3 separate regions of the Homo sapiens genome follow, and all the other regions are linked to region 1. The links are contacts of gene promoters, found by promoter capture Hi-C in human tissues and cell types (Jung and others, 2019). All regions are on one chromosome and are shown on one strand. Each heading gives the region's core, a stretch centred on a gene start or on the middle of the fragment in contact. The rest is flanking DNA. Distances are from core to core; before and after follow the strand shown.

Evidence for each region. The method cuts DNA at HindIII sites, captures the fragments that hold promoters and counts their contacts. A contact is called where the count stands out against the background at its distance.
Region 2: a fragment that was not itself captured here is called in contact with the fragment with the promoter of OTOP1 in region 1 in 4 of the 25 tissues and cell types used here (bladder, dorsolateral prefrontal cortex, mesenchymal stem cells and 1 more).
Region 3: a fragment that was not itself captured here is called in contact with the fragment with the promoter of OTOP1 in region 1 in 2 of the 25 tissues and cell types used here (heart right ventricle and lymphoblastoid cells).

What each region holds. Positions count from the first base shown.
Region 1 is chr4:4,224,907-4,229,855 of GRCh38, reverse strand. OTOP1 (otopetrin 1) reads left to right here and starts at 2,927. Exons shown (of 6, transcript NM_177998.3): 1 at 2,927-3,394. The coding sequence starts at 2,992. RefSeq lists enhancers at 1,935-2,555, 3,177-3,797. The HindIII fragment of the contact is 12,453 bases long and covers 1-3,764 here.
Region 2 is chr4:4,352,306-4,356,827 of GRCh38, reverse strand. No RefSeq gene overlaps it. Among named protein-coding and RNA genes, the nearest start is that of NSG1, 33 kb to the left of the region's middle. The HindIII fragment of the contact is 3,687 bases long and covers 1-3,630 here.
Region 3 is chr4:4,421,260-4,425,799 of GRCh38, reverse strand. STX18 (syntaxin 18) reads left to right here. Exons shown (of 11, transcript NM_016930.4): 8 at 578-636; 9 at 2,213-2,282. Among named protein-coding and RNA genes, the nearest start is that of NSG1, 36 kb to the right of the region's middle. The HindIII fragment of the contact is 3,714 bases long and covers 1,014-4,540 here.

The DNA of each region.
Region 1 (4,949 bases), core at 1,678-4,177:
GATTACAATAAAGGGGGCTGACTTTAGCCTCCAGAAACTTTCATTTCATTGCTTCTTAAAAAAATGCAGGCCAGGTGGGGTGGCTCATGCTGGTAATTCCAGCACTTTGGGAGGCCAAGGGGTGGATCACGAGGTCAGGAGTTAAGACCAGGCTAGCCAGCATGGGGAAACCGCACCTCTACTAAAAATACAGAAATTAGCCGGGCATGGTGGCAGGCGCCTGTAATCCCAGCTACTCGGGAGGCTGAGGCAGGAGAATCGCTTGAACTCAGGAGGCAGAGGTTGCAGTGAGCTGAGATGATTGTGCCACTGCACTCCAGCTTGGGTAACAGAGTGAGACTCCATCTCAAAAAACCAACCAACCAACCAAACAAACAAACAAAAAAGTGCAGGTAGCCCAGAGACAGGCATTCCACTTGATTTTCAGATGGTGACTGAGCTTTATTTATCTTTGTACTCAACGGGTTAAGGTACTGCTAGCTGCTGTAACATTTCAGACTTTGGTGGCTTAGCACAATGGAAGTTTATTTCTCACTGATGTAAGGTCCAGCTTCGGGAGGAAAAGCCGCCTCACTAGTCACTGGGGAGACACGCAGACAGGCTCTTCCATCTTCAGCTCAGGCTCCCAGGTTGCTCTGGCTGTTGGTAGGAAGAGGAGGGGAGAAGGTGGAGGGTCCCTAGTAGGTTTGCTGGATCTTCTCTCTGGATTGCCTTTCCAGACCCCTGCTCCCTTCCGCCTGACCATCCACTCCTAAGCCTAAAGAATGTGCAGGAGGCTGGACGTGGTAGCTGGAGCCTGTGATCCCAGTGCTTTGGGAGGCTGAGGTAGGAGGATGGCTTGAGCCCAGGAGTTTGAGATCAACCTGAGCAACATAGTGAGACCCGTCTCTACAAAAAAACAATTTAAAAAAAATGAGCCAGGCGTGGTAGCACACACCTGTAGTCCCAGCTATTCGGGAGGCTGAGGCGGGAGGAGCACTTGAGCCCCAGAATTCGAGGCTGTAGTGAGCCATAATCACACCACTTCATTCCAGCCTGGGAGACACAGGGAGACCCTGTCCTTATTAAAAGATAAAAATAAGAGAAAGAAAGAAAGAAAGAAGACTGTGCAGGTGTTGCCTCCTCCCTGAACCTCTCAGCCTTCCTGCAGACCTGGACTCCTCCCAGGCCCCTGGTTGTAGCCCTGCTCAAGGGTGTTGTGCTGCTTACTCTGTCCCCACTCCCAAGCTCTTAGAAGTTGAGGGCTAAGTCTCACAGGTCATGATCCCCAGCTTCCCAGTGAGGGCTCATTAGCTGTTTGTTTATTGCTGTTTCTCTACCTGAACATCAGCTCCACCTGAGCAGAGCCTTTCATAGCTGAAAACCCAGCTGCTAGAACAGAGAGCAGCAAATGATTCATAGGTCAACACATACATATGTGTTGATCAAATGCATGAATGCGTGAATTGGAAGAATGATGGTGGCAAGGTAAGGTCCCCCAGGTTGACTCCTTGCTAGCCCAGGACTCCCCACCCCTCCTTTACTAGTCAGGACCTGCTATTGCAATTTGCTGCGCTTAGCGCAAAACAAAAACATGGGCCCTCTTGTTCAAAAATTAAGAATTTCAAGACGGCAAGAACCTTAAACCAAGAGCGAGAGGGTGTCTTCCGGGCCCAGCCCCGGGCTGCTGCACGGTGGGATGTGGGCTTGCCCCAGGCTCGCTCCCAACTCCCCTCTCCAACCTGCGGCTGGGGGGCTGGGGTCCGGCGCCTCCTGTCAGCCACGCCAGACCCGTAGAACGCTCTTCAGCTGAAACTTCCCAGACCTCCACTTAGCGGCACCCGAGCGGGGCTCCCTGGCAGACTCAGTCCCCTTCCGGGAGCAGGCGGGTGCCAGGCGGGCACCGGGGCTTTGGAAGGGGCTAGTGAAGACGCTTGGGCGCCGGTAGCAACAGGGCAGACCCCGGGGCGTCCCTCATTCCAGCTCCTCTGGGTCCAGAACGGCTGCCGCTCCTTTGGGGGAGGGTGCGGGATGGTCTCTTTTCTTAGAAAGTGGCTCAGGTCTTATTCTGCGCCTGGGCATCTCGCAGCCGACACACAGGCACACCAGACGGACAAACAGAAAAACCCACAGAAGGCGGCCCCTCCCCCAATTCAGAGAGCCAGTGACGGGCGCTCCTCCACCCCTAACCAGACACACCCGATAACAGACGGCCAGACACAGAGTGACCCGCACAGAGAAGACAATACAGAAATACGCAGGGACGAGTACAGACCGTCGGACGCTCGGACACGGACGCAGGCAGGATCCCCTGGACCTCTGGGTTCCCCAACGGAGACCCTCGGGGAAGGCCCGGAGCATCGCAAGCCCCTGTGGAGCCCCGGACGCCCCGCTTGGCAGCAGCCACGCCCCCCGCGCACACCCCCCTCGGGCTGGCTCCGGGAGACCCCCTCTCCCCAGTCCCGCAACCCCGGGACCCCGGCAGGCACTTCTTGTCACCCAGCGTTTCCGGGGCGCCCGGACAGGGGCTGGGTGGGCGGGCGTCGGCTCAGGGGTGAGGGCTGCAGACGGCGGGCGGGGGCCGGGCGCGCGGGCGGAGGTGCGGGAGGACGCGCTAGTGTCGCGGCAGGGCTGGCCAGTGTCCCAGGGATCAGGAGCGGGGAGCTGTCCGCGTGGGTCCCGGAGGGGGCAGATGGCTGCCCCGGGCGTTGCCCAGTGAGGGGCAGCGGGCAAGGGAGCTCGTAGAATCCCAGGTCAGCAGGGTGGGGCGCTGGGTAAGTGGACAGGGTGGTACCTTGACGGAGGACGAAGGGGCAGAAGAGGGGAGGGCGGGCGTCGGGAGGTGACAGGAGAGGGGGCAGGTTGGCAGGGGCGTGGGGTAGGAATCGGAAGGGAGTTGAAAAGGGAGGTGCTGGTTGGCAGAGGCGTCGGGGCAAGGACAGGAGCCAGGAGCGCAGGCGGGGCCCGACGGCAGCCACCCCCGGGACCAGACTTGGCGCGGGTGTCTCGAAGATGCTCGAGGGCCTGGGGTCGCCCGCCTCGCCCCGGGCAGCTGCAAGCGCCTCGGTCGCAGGGTCGTCGGGGCCAGCGGCCTGCTCGCCTCCCTCGTCCTCGGCCCCGAGGTCCCCGGAATCCCCGGCCCCCCGGCGGGGCGGTGTGCGCGCCAGCGTCCCACAGAAACTGGCCGAGATGCTGAGCAGCCAGTATGGGCTGATCGTGTTCGTGGCGGGGCTGCTGCTGCTGCTGGCCTGGGCCGTGCACGCCGCGGGCGTGAGCAAGAGCGACCTGCTGTGCTTCCTGACGGCGCTCATGCTGCTGCAGCTGCTGTGGATGCTGTGGTACGTGGGCCGCAGCTCCGCGCACCGCCGCCTCTTCCGCCTCAAGGACACGCACGCGGGTGCCGGCTGGCTGCGCGGTGAGTCCAGGCGCCGGGCGAGCGGGTCTCCGCCTCCTCGCCCGCTGGCTGCATCCTGAGGCTGCTCTGCGCCCTTCCTACCGCTGCCGTCTTCCCTTCAGCCTTTTCTGCCTTGGTCTCTCTGTGCATCTTTCCTAGCTTTCCTGTCTGCCCTTCCTTTCCTCTCTCTCTCTCTGAAGCTTGGGTCGCCGCAGGAGCCTCCTCTCCGCCTCCAGACGCTTCCATCATTACAGCCACAGTTACAGAAACCTCTCTTGTCCTTCCCTGACTTAAAGCCATGCAGTGGCCCTACTGACCCCATGATGGAGGCCACGCTCCCTCTCCTGACACTCAGAGCCTTCTAGCACTCGGCCCCCGAGGGCCCGTTTCCTTTGATCCCCTCCTTTGTTCTCATCCTGTGCTGGGGTCATTCTCGCGAACTTTCTCGCCCATCGCAGGACCTCTGCCTCTGCACATTCGGCACCTTCGGTTCTCTCCTCCAGGAATGTCTTTTCCACTTTCCCACCTGCCCCTCTGCTTTCCGAGACAGGGCTCAGGCCTCACCCCATTCTCCCCGCGAAGCTTCTCCGACCCCCTTCTCCTCCCGGCTTTGCAGGTCTGACCACATGCCCCCAGCCCGCACTGGGCTCCAGTGTTCTTGTCAACATGTCTGTACCCTCCACTCCACTGGGGAGCTCTGTGATCCCTGTCTCTCGGTCCTAGAGCCACCTCAGGGCCTGGCACGAAGTGGGTGTTGAGAAAATGAGGGGGTATGAATGAAATAATGAATGCGTGGATGCAGGGTGGGGCAAAGAGGGATAGAGGCTCCTGCTGGTACTCACAGGCATTGGCTGAAATTGTCAAGATAGGAGCTCTTTCTTCCTCAAGGGGCTGCCACATTTTTTTTTTTTTTTTTGAGACAATGTTGCTCTATCTCCCAGGCTGGAGTGCAGTGGCACAATCACAGCTCACTACAGCCTCTTCCTCCTGGGCTCAAGCAATCCTCCCACTTCAGCCTCCTGAATAGCTGGAACTATAGACACACATGGCCTTGCCCAGCTAAGTTTTGTTATATTTTGTACAGATAGGGCCTCGTTGTGTTGTCTCCTTTTCTCAAACTCCTGGCCTCCAGGGATCCTCCTGCCTTGGCCTCCCAAAATGCTGGGATCACAGGCATGAACCACTGTGCCTGGCTGGGGCTGCCAGTCTTGAATGGGAGACAGACATGGTGCAGGTGAAAGGGAGGAGGCCATGGGGAGCATGCTTGTGAAGAAAGCTTCTGTCTGAGTAACCTTCCCAGGAGAGGCCAAGTGCATTTCACACCACGTGGTCCAGGCACATCACACATTGCCACTTGGACTCTCATATTAGACCTGAATTTAAATCTCCATTAGAGTGGGGCTTCCGTGTTCCTTGCATGCATGACCTTGGGCAAGTTACCTGATTGCCTTCCTTACCCTGAACCCTGGTTTCAGCATCTGTAGAATGGGGATCTCAAACTGGATAAGATCCAGTGACTGATGAGGTGGCTGCCCAGCACACACTAGGCCTCCTTTCCACATTTCTTTCAAAGGTC
Region 2 (4,522 bases), core at 538-3,037, 130 kb before region 1:
ACCCAAATTTACACTCAAGGAATGTGTTCCAAGCAGGAGATTTTGCCACAAAGGAAGGGAGGGATATTTATGTGCCTGGCCTTATCTCCTCTAGATTGACTTTTCCTGAATCACAGAGGCTCAGGGAGGAGGGAGGAGGGAGGAGGGGGAATAGCTCTCGGGATAAAGGAGGCCATTGGCGAGCAGCCATTTAATGCCCGCCTTTAATCTGGTGAATATAATGCTACAGGCGAGGTGGCCATTTTTCCCGACTGTAAAGAGAGAATCTAGCCTCATAGTCCCAAGGAGGCCCCAGACCCGGCATCCAACAGCCGTGGCCCTGTGTGCGCAAGGGGTGCTGGGGGTGGAGAGGGCTTGGCCGGGGATGTTCTGAGACCCCGGGAATACTTGGTCCACCAGCAGGCCTGGGGGTCCTGCTCCCCCTGAGCTGCGACCTGGGCCACGTCTCCCCTGCTCTCCCAGCATCCTCCACGGCAGGCTCGTTGGTCCCTGCGGGACTAGCCGTCCACTGCTGTGCTGTTAGCAGGCTGGTCCCTTGGCTTCCTAAAGAGCAGCCTCCTCCTCATCCAACCACTGTGCTCCTATGTCACCTTTTCTGGAAGCACCACCCCAAGCCTACAGGGAGAGCTAGCCGCCCCTCTCCTCTGTCTGTCTCCGTCTCTCCTATTGCCTCATTAGAGGGGGAACCATTTCCAAGGGAGGACCCACGTCAGTTATCTCTGGAACTTGTCAGGCCTGTTACATGGCTGGTGTAAAATCAATATTGATGGAAGTGAATTGGATTAAAATGAAACACTGAATAGAAATGAAATGAATTGAAATGAATTATAAATACACTGACTACAGGTGTATTGAATGAGTTGAAAGCTGACCTCCAAAAAGAGATGGCCATGTCCTAACCATCGGAAACTGTGAATGTCACCTTATTTGGAATAAAGATCTTTGCAGATATAACCAAATTGAGGATCTCGGGATGAGATCATCCCAGATGATCCTGAACCCTAAATCTAATGACAGTGACCTTGTAAGAGACACATAGAAGACAGAGGAGGACCCCACATGAAATGGAGGCAGACATTGGAGTGAGGCGGCTACAAGCCAAGAAACGCCTAGAGCCACCAGAGGTTGAAAAGAGGCAAAGAGTTGTCACCTAGAGCCTTTGGAAGGAAGTGTTAACCTTAAAGAATGAGATTCAGAAAGTGTGATTGAGTATAGAGTTTATTCAAGTGCAAAGCTTAAGGATGGCTACCAGTGAAAGTACCAACTCCAAAGGAATGGGCTCAGAGTTTCCAACGTGGAGGAGTTAAGGTTTCATTGATATCAGTAGAGAAGTTCCAGGAAGATTACATCAGCTACCCTACAAGGCCAGGTGCATACATCACAGCAATTGGATTGGTTACAGATTGCTTCATACCAAGGAAGATTACTTTATTACTCCATGAGGAGGGGCAATGATCTGAGGGGGTCTCATCTCTGGTGCAGCTTGGGTCTTCTTAATTACTAACAAGAAGAAATAAAGGCAGAAGTTGCAGCTGCAACCCATGTGACCGAGATTGCATAGCCACATTGCTCTCAAGGCTCAGGTTAATTCGAGGTTTCAACAGCTTTAAGCTTGAATTATTTAACTTCACATTTCCCCCTTTTCATCAAGATCTTTGGAAGAAAGCTTCATAGATGAACTCAAATGGTTTTGGCTCCTTTTATGTTCAGGACCTTAGTCCCTTATTGCTAGAAGGCTCATTCCTAGAGTGTCATGTCCATGGTAGGGGGAATGTCAGGCTATCAACCTGATAAGGTAGCAACCTAATTTAAAGCAATATGAGGGAAGTGACTTTGTGACCTGAGTCAGGCTACTCCGCTGCATCTTCAGTTAATGCAGTTCTTCAAGTGACCATTAATTTCATTTCTTCAGTTGTGAGTTGACTCCCTTGCAAATACATTCTGTAGCAGCAGTGAAGACAAAAAGAAGGCAAAACCCGCTGGGCACAGTGGCTCATGCCTGTAATCCCAACACTTTGGGTGGCCAAGGTGGGTGGATCACTTGAGGTCAGGAGTTCGAGACCAGCCTAGCCAACATGGTGAAACCCCGTCTCTACTAAAAACACAAAAATTAGCCGGGCTTGGTGGTGGGCACCTGTAATCCCAGCTACTTGGGAGGCTGAGGCAGGAGAATCGCTTGAACCTGGGAGGCGAAGGTTGCAGTGAGCCGAGGTTGTGCCATTACACTCCAGCCTGGGTGACAGAGTGAGACTCCGTCTCAAAAAAGAAAAAAAAAAGAAGAAGACAAAACCAAACAATGATGATAATTTCTAGAACGAGTAATAGCTTTTGCCACCAAGTTTCCCAAGATCCCAACCAGCTGCTTAGCCAGTCGTTTAGGGAGGGCATTGGATCTGAAAGGATAATTATTTGAGTTTTCATATCAGCCATCAATTTAGTGATGTTACCTGGGATATAGATACAGCAGCCAGTTTTTATGATAGCATAGGTTCCCCCTTGGGCTGCAGTGAGTATGTCTAAAGTCATATGGTGTCAGGTAAATGCACCTGACAGCAAACATTTAAGCATATCCTTAGACTGACCCTGTGTGGAAGATGCACCTGAATGTGTGTTCCCAACTAGAGAACCTGGGAGTGGACAACCTGGAGATTCATTCCGTATCTATGGTAAACATCTGAGTTCCCATCCCATCCCATTGAATGTGGGCCATACAGGGCACTGAGGTTCTGAGTTTTGGGTTAAATGAAGGTTGCCAGGTGTAGGTTGTTAAGGGGAGAAAGTGTTAAGTGAAAATGCTATATGAACTGCATGCTGTTTGCAAGCATTTGTGGTTTCCCTGCTCAGCCTGCCATCACTAGAGCCTTTCTTTTTTTTTTCCGACAGAGTTTCACTCTTGTTGCCCAGGCTAGAGTGCAATGGCATAATCTCAGCTCACTGCAACCTCCGCCTCCCGGATTCAAGCAGTTCTTCTGTCTCAGCCTCCTGAATAGCTGGGATTACAGGCATGCGCCATTACGCCTGGCTAGTTTTGTATTTTTAGTAGAGCCGGGGTTTCTCCATGTTGGTCAGGCTGGTCTCGAACTCCTGACCTCAGGTGATCCACTCACCTCGGCCTCCCAAAGCGCTGGGATTACAGGCCTGAGCCACCACGCCCAGCCTAGATGGTTTCTATACATAAGGGGGTTCTCTTGTCTAGCCCACAGCCACTGGATTCTCTCCCCTGTGCGTAAGCCCCCTGATAAAACCCCGTGTCTTGTTTGCTGGCTTTGGGTCGCTTAGCCTCTTGAATCTTGTGCCTTCCCTACTGAGGTTAATAGGGGTTCGGCACAACACACAGTTCTGTGATACGGCCTTTCTCATAAGAGTAACTTTGTTGTTTAATAACGAGATGCCCATGTGGCTATCATCTAGGGCCTTTTGTGTATAAATGGCTAGGGCCTCTGCAAGCCAAATGACATCCTTAATACCTAGTTGTGGCAGAAAGATGGAAGCTAAATGATCACACCAATGGCATACAGAATGAACCCAATGAACTCAATGATTATATAAGTGAGGAAGATTTGTGGGCTTTGAAAGAGTATAAACTATTCAACCTTGTGCCCAGGCATAACCCAAAAAATACCGTCTTAACCATCCTATGGGTAACCACGGCCATAGTTGGTGCCCGCACAGCAAAGATGTTCCATTTGCAGCTAACCAATGAATACCTAGTCACTGTGCCCTTTCAGTGGGATGCCAGTCAGTGCCTTGTAATATAATGGTGTGGATACACTCTTGTCTGGATATCCATCCCATATCTCTAGTGCTACTGGGGCAGGAATCTTTGGTGTGATTCTTTTGATCCCAACATAAATGGGCAAGCTAAGCTGACCAAAAGAGGGAGTACACCAGACAAAACAAACTCAAATTTGTGTTATACTATCTCAAAATTGAGTTGTCTCATTTCTCGGTTGGGGGCAGCACCAGTGTTAAAACTAACAAATGGGCCGAGCCCGGTGGCTCACGCTTGCAATCCCAGAACTTTGGGAGGCCAAAGTGGGCAGATCACAAGGTCAGAAGTTCAAGACCAGCCTGGCCAACACAGTGAAACCCCCTGTCTACTAAAAATACAAAAATTAGCTGGGTGTGGTGGCGGGCACCTGTAATCCCAGCTACTTGGGAGGCTGAGGCAGGAGAATCACTTGAACCTGGGAGGTGGAGGTTGCAGTGAGCCAAGATCGTGCCACTGCACTCCAGCCTGGGCGACAGTGGGAGACTCTGTCTCAAAAAAAAAAAAAAAAGAAAAAAGAAAAGTTAAAATGGGAGTTAATATATGTAATTAAAACTACTAGTTACAAAATAAACAATTTTATATACAGAAAATAAAAGAAAATTGAAAAGACAGAGTAATTTGTTTTCTTTTACATGAGAAAGAATTTTGTGTGGTCAAAATGATAAGGGAGAAAATAAACTTTTTTCCTAAGGTGGAATGCCAATAGGAAAAAGGAAGTATAGGCCAAAATTGAAGGTTACATGAACTGTA
Region 3 (4,540 bases), core at 1,621-4,120, 200 kb before region 1:
TCCTCACCCAGCCTGAGCACTGGGAAACACGCTCCTCTGGCTCTGGGCCTCTGTCCCTGTTGAGCAGTGGAGTGGCCAGGCTCTGAAGTCAGAGGGGCCCAGAGGCAGCTCGGCCAAGCTGCCCACCTCCCCTTCCTCTCCAGACCCTCCCCACACCAGATCCTTCTCCATATTAAAAAATATGTATAGTCCTTCAGTATAGTTCATGAGAGAAAACAACAACAAAAGAATTTTCTTAATAATGGTACTAGAGTCAGGAAGCAGGCCGTGGGATCCCAGGGGAGAGCGGGTAGGTAGATACAGCTACAGCCATAGCAGTCAGCTTGTACCCCTGGAGTGCAGTGGTTGAGATGGAGAAGTCAATTACCAGGCAGCACAGCTGTTTTTTAAAACTTTCTCCTGAAAGCAGGGACGTTGTTCACACTAATGCTAACGGTCGTCCAGCACCGGCTGCCACGTTGCCGCAGCTGGAAATGGGGGCTTCGGCAGTGATTCCTGGAGCGTAGGTCCGCTTTCTTGCTAGACTCTTGCCTAAGTTCAGTATGATGTCATCCTGAGTGTGTCTGTTTCCTCACAGTTTGAACAGGAAAATCAGCGACTAATTGGTGAAATGAACAGCTTGTTTGATGAAGTGAGGTATGTTTGTAGCTCCTCTGTGAGCTGATAGCCTGCTTTACAACTTTTCCAGGAACTAGGAACTTTATTTACCTTGGTGCCCAGGCATCCCCATGGGGCCCTTGGGCTGGTGCAGCCCCCCTCAGCCATTTTGACTGGGCTGGGGTGGGCATGTGGCCTGAATCCACAACTCCCTCAGCTTGTGGGCCTGTGGGTTACCTCCTGCCTGCTGCCACTGCTGCGGGGGGCCCAGGTGCTTCCCACCCCGAGAGATACAGGAGTGACTACAGATTACCTGCGTATAATTTCCACCACCATTCGGGCTGTTTCCACGCAGCGACTCTGAAATGAAATGGGGCCCTTATGAAGGGCAGCTAACCAAGGGAAGCCCTCTTCTGCAAATGGTTCCACTGGGGTCTGCCTGCTCCTGTACCCACCAGGGAGTCAGGAATGCAGAAGGCAAGGCCTTGGTCACTCACACATGCACCCGTTAGCCTCTAGTTTCTGTGGGAAGGCTTGGAGCATGCTGAAAGTAAGGCCCAGGACTTTGCAGAGCCTGTTGTATTGTGGACATGTCCCCCAAATAAAATCAATCCTGATGCTGCACTCACACAGCCTGAGGACTTTCTCAGTGTAGGTGTCAGCCTCCAAGGGGCTCTTCGCCTTCTGCCCTCAGAGATGGACCTCCTAGTCCTCCTCTGACAGCCTAGCTTTCACTGTCTGCCCCACTACCGCCCCCACCCCGCTACTCCCCCATGCCCAGATACTCACTGGCTTTTCTTCCCACATCTCCTCCCCTGCCCCCTGCCACTGTGATACTGTTGGGATTCATCACTGCTTCCACCTGGCCAGGAGCTCAGCTCCCACCACTTTTTGCCTCCTGTCACTTCCTGTCGCTGCTTTGTGCTGGAACAGCAGTTGACTTCAGCTTGGGCCAGCTTCTGTTTCTAAATAGATGTGCCCCCACCCGCCCCCCAGGGTAGCCCATGCTGCCCCTGACACCAGGAAGATGGCTAGCCCAAGTGTTTCAGATCCGACAGAACACTCCGTTGCCAAACCAAGACATGGCATTTTCTAAATGAATCAGAGGAGCTTTTTTCTTGGAACAGGGAGTTGGTTTGAAGGTAAATACACTTTTTTCTTTAACCTGCTGAGCATTAACAAAGCTGGATCATCAGCATATTCTGACCTTCTGAATCCCCACCATGTGTTACCATGGTGATGAGGCTAGGCAGAGAACTTACTGGAGACTGCTTTCTGTAACTGGGGCACAACCAGGCCCTCCCCATTCCCCGAGCAGTGACACAGAATGCAAAGGGCACTGCACACACCCACCTCTTGGGACTGAGGGTCAGTTGGCATGGTAGAGTGGACTTCCAAAAAGACCAGTGTGCTAGGCTATGCCAGAAGACAGGGAAGGTGACCCAGTAAGGAGAGTTCGCCTTCCTCTCCCATCTCCTCTTCCCCCAGCCGACACAGTGTGCCCCCTGTCTCTCCCACCTTCACGTAGAAGATAGGATTTCTTTAGAAGTGTGTAACAGTCCTGTTAGATTACCAAGTGCTAATAGTTAATATGTAATCTGTTCTTTTTATGAAGGCAAATCGAAGGGAGAGTGGTTGAGATTTCCAGACTCCAAGAGATATTCACGGAAAAGGTTTTGCAACAGGTAAAAAAACAAAAACAAAGGAGCTGTATGTTTTCACTCAAAGGGGAATGTACTTGAGAGCACGAGACATTTTTCCCAAAGGCTGCTGCTCTACACAGCCAGGAGCAGAGCCATGTGTTGCTAGCAGGTGTGTGTGCGCAGAGCTCCTCAGGGAAAAGCTCTCACTACCCAGAGCTGCCTCTGCACACGTGTGATGGAGGAGGAGCTCCCCACAGGGGACCCACTGACCACCCCATGTGGTAGCACATGCGGTGGCACGTGGGAGGAGAGTCCAGGCCTGGCAGTCAGGGTTCTGGATGTGCTGGGTAAGCTAGGTAGCCCCCACAAGCTACAGTTTCCCATCTATAGGAGGGAGGGACTCCTGCAGGGTTATTCTCTGTTTGAGAGATAACTGCAGAAGCATCCAGCACGATGCTGACGGGCAGTTGCTTTTCAGTCAGTAGGTTACAGGAGCTCAGACCCAGGCCTCTCACAACGCGCGGTCCATGCCACCTCAGGGATGGTGTCTGCGTGGGAAATAGGATTGTTCTTTTCAAGTGAATTTTCTGAAATTCTTCCAGCCAATAACTGGCAAAACTTTTCAAGACCTGATAAATTTGCCCTTTTATTTTTAGCATCCAAAGACTATGGGAACGTTTGAAAGACAAAATTTTCTCCAGTATTTTAAACTGGACTACTTGACTTAAGATACTTCACTCACAAAATGACTTTCCATAAACCACACAGCCAGAGTGAAATCATTGTAAATGAGGTACATTAAGTCTAACAGTGGTTTGCAAGTTCGGGTTCATAGGAGTCGCCCTTTTTAATAACACTACCCTGCTTCAAACCTCCCAGCGGCTCCAGGGGGCCTGGGAGGGGCGTGCAGAGCATAGGCAGAGCCTTGCCTTGGCTCACCGGGAGTTTCTTTTTCTTTTCTTTTTTTTTCTTTTTCTTTTTTTTTTTTTTGGAGACAGAGTCTTGCTGTGTCGCCCAGGCTGGAGTGCAATGTTGCTATCTTGGCTCACTGCAACCTCATCCTCCCAGGTTCAAGCGATTCTCCTGCCTCAGTCAGCCTCTTGAGTAGCTGGGATTACAGGCATGCCACCACGCCTGGCTAATTTTGGTATTTTTAGTAAAGACGGGGTTTCACCATCTTGGCCAGGCTGGTCCCGAACTCCTGACTTCAGGTGATCCACCTGCCTTGGCCTCCCAAAGTGCTGGGATTACAGACGAGAGCCACTGCGCCCGGCCCACTGGGAGTTCCTAAGTCCTGAGGAACAATGTGTCTTTCTTGTTTTTTCCATCAGTGTTGCATTGTAGTTCATATTGATTCTCTCATTGGAACCTTGGCAGTGGTCACTTAGTTCACACTTTGAGACTCTCTAAAAAGGGGTGATGATGAGGCAAAGCCATCCCAGTAATATTCATTGCTGGGAATCAGAGGCCACATGCTGCCTTCCTCCCTACAATGTGTCAGTCAGGTTTCTCTAAAAACCCACGCTAGCATTCATTCTGCCCTGACCCTGTTAGGAAGCAGCTTCACCACCACCGAAAGGAGGAGAGAAGCAGGCACTCCTGCTTGTAAGGACGTCTAGCACCGTCTCTGCTCCTGTGGGGCCAGACGCCCCCTGTGTTATCCCACGCTTCTCAAGCTTTTCAAGGCTTCGTTTGGAGTAAACGTTTTCTGTAAGCATCCTGCATCCTATTTTGATTTTTAAATTTTAGCCTGTTTTTTAAGAGATATGATGATAGTAAAACACAAAGCACTATTTTTGAAGCTAGCATATGTATTTCGAAGCACATACATTTTAAAGCTTACTTCTGTGGACTTCAGAAAGAAATGAGAGACTAGAAGGGAAGCCCCTGGCATATGGTGGCTGCTCCACAAACAATAGCTCTTAGGTTTTTGTCCGTCACCGGCGAGTGGCGCAGGAGGGATGGTAAGTGTGGCGGAAGGAGCACTGCAACAAGATGGGGTCTCAGCCCTGCGCGGTGGCTCATGCCTGTAATCCCAGCACTCTGGGAGGCCGAGGCGGGAGCATGGTGTGAGCTCAAGAGTTCAAGACCAGCCTGGGCAACATAGGGAGACCCCCCATCTCTACAAAAAATTTTAAAAATTTAGCCAGGCGTGGTGGCACATGCCTATACTCCCAGCTACTTGGGAGGCTGAAGTGGGAGGATCGTTTAAGCCCTGTCTCAAAAAAAAAAAAAGTCTCAGTCCTGCCACTTGGTTGCTGTGTGATGTGACTTTGGGCAAGTTAGTAAACTTCTCTGAG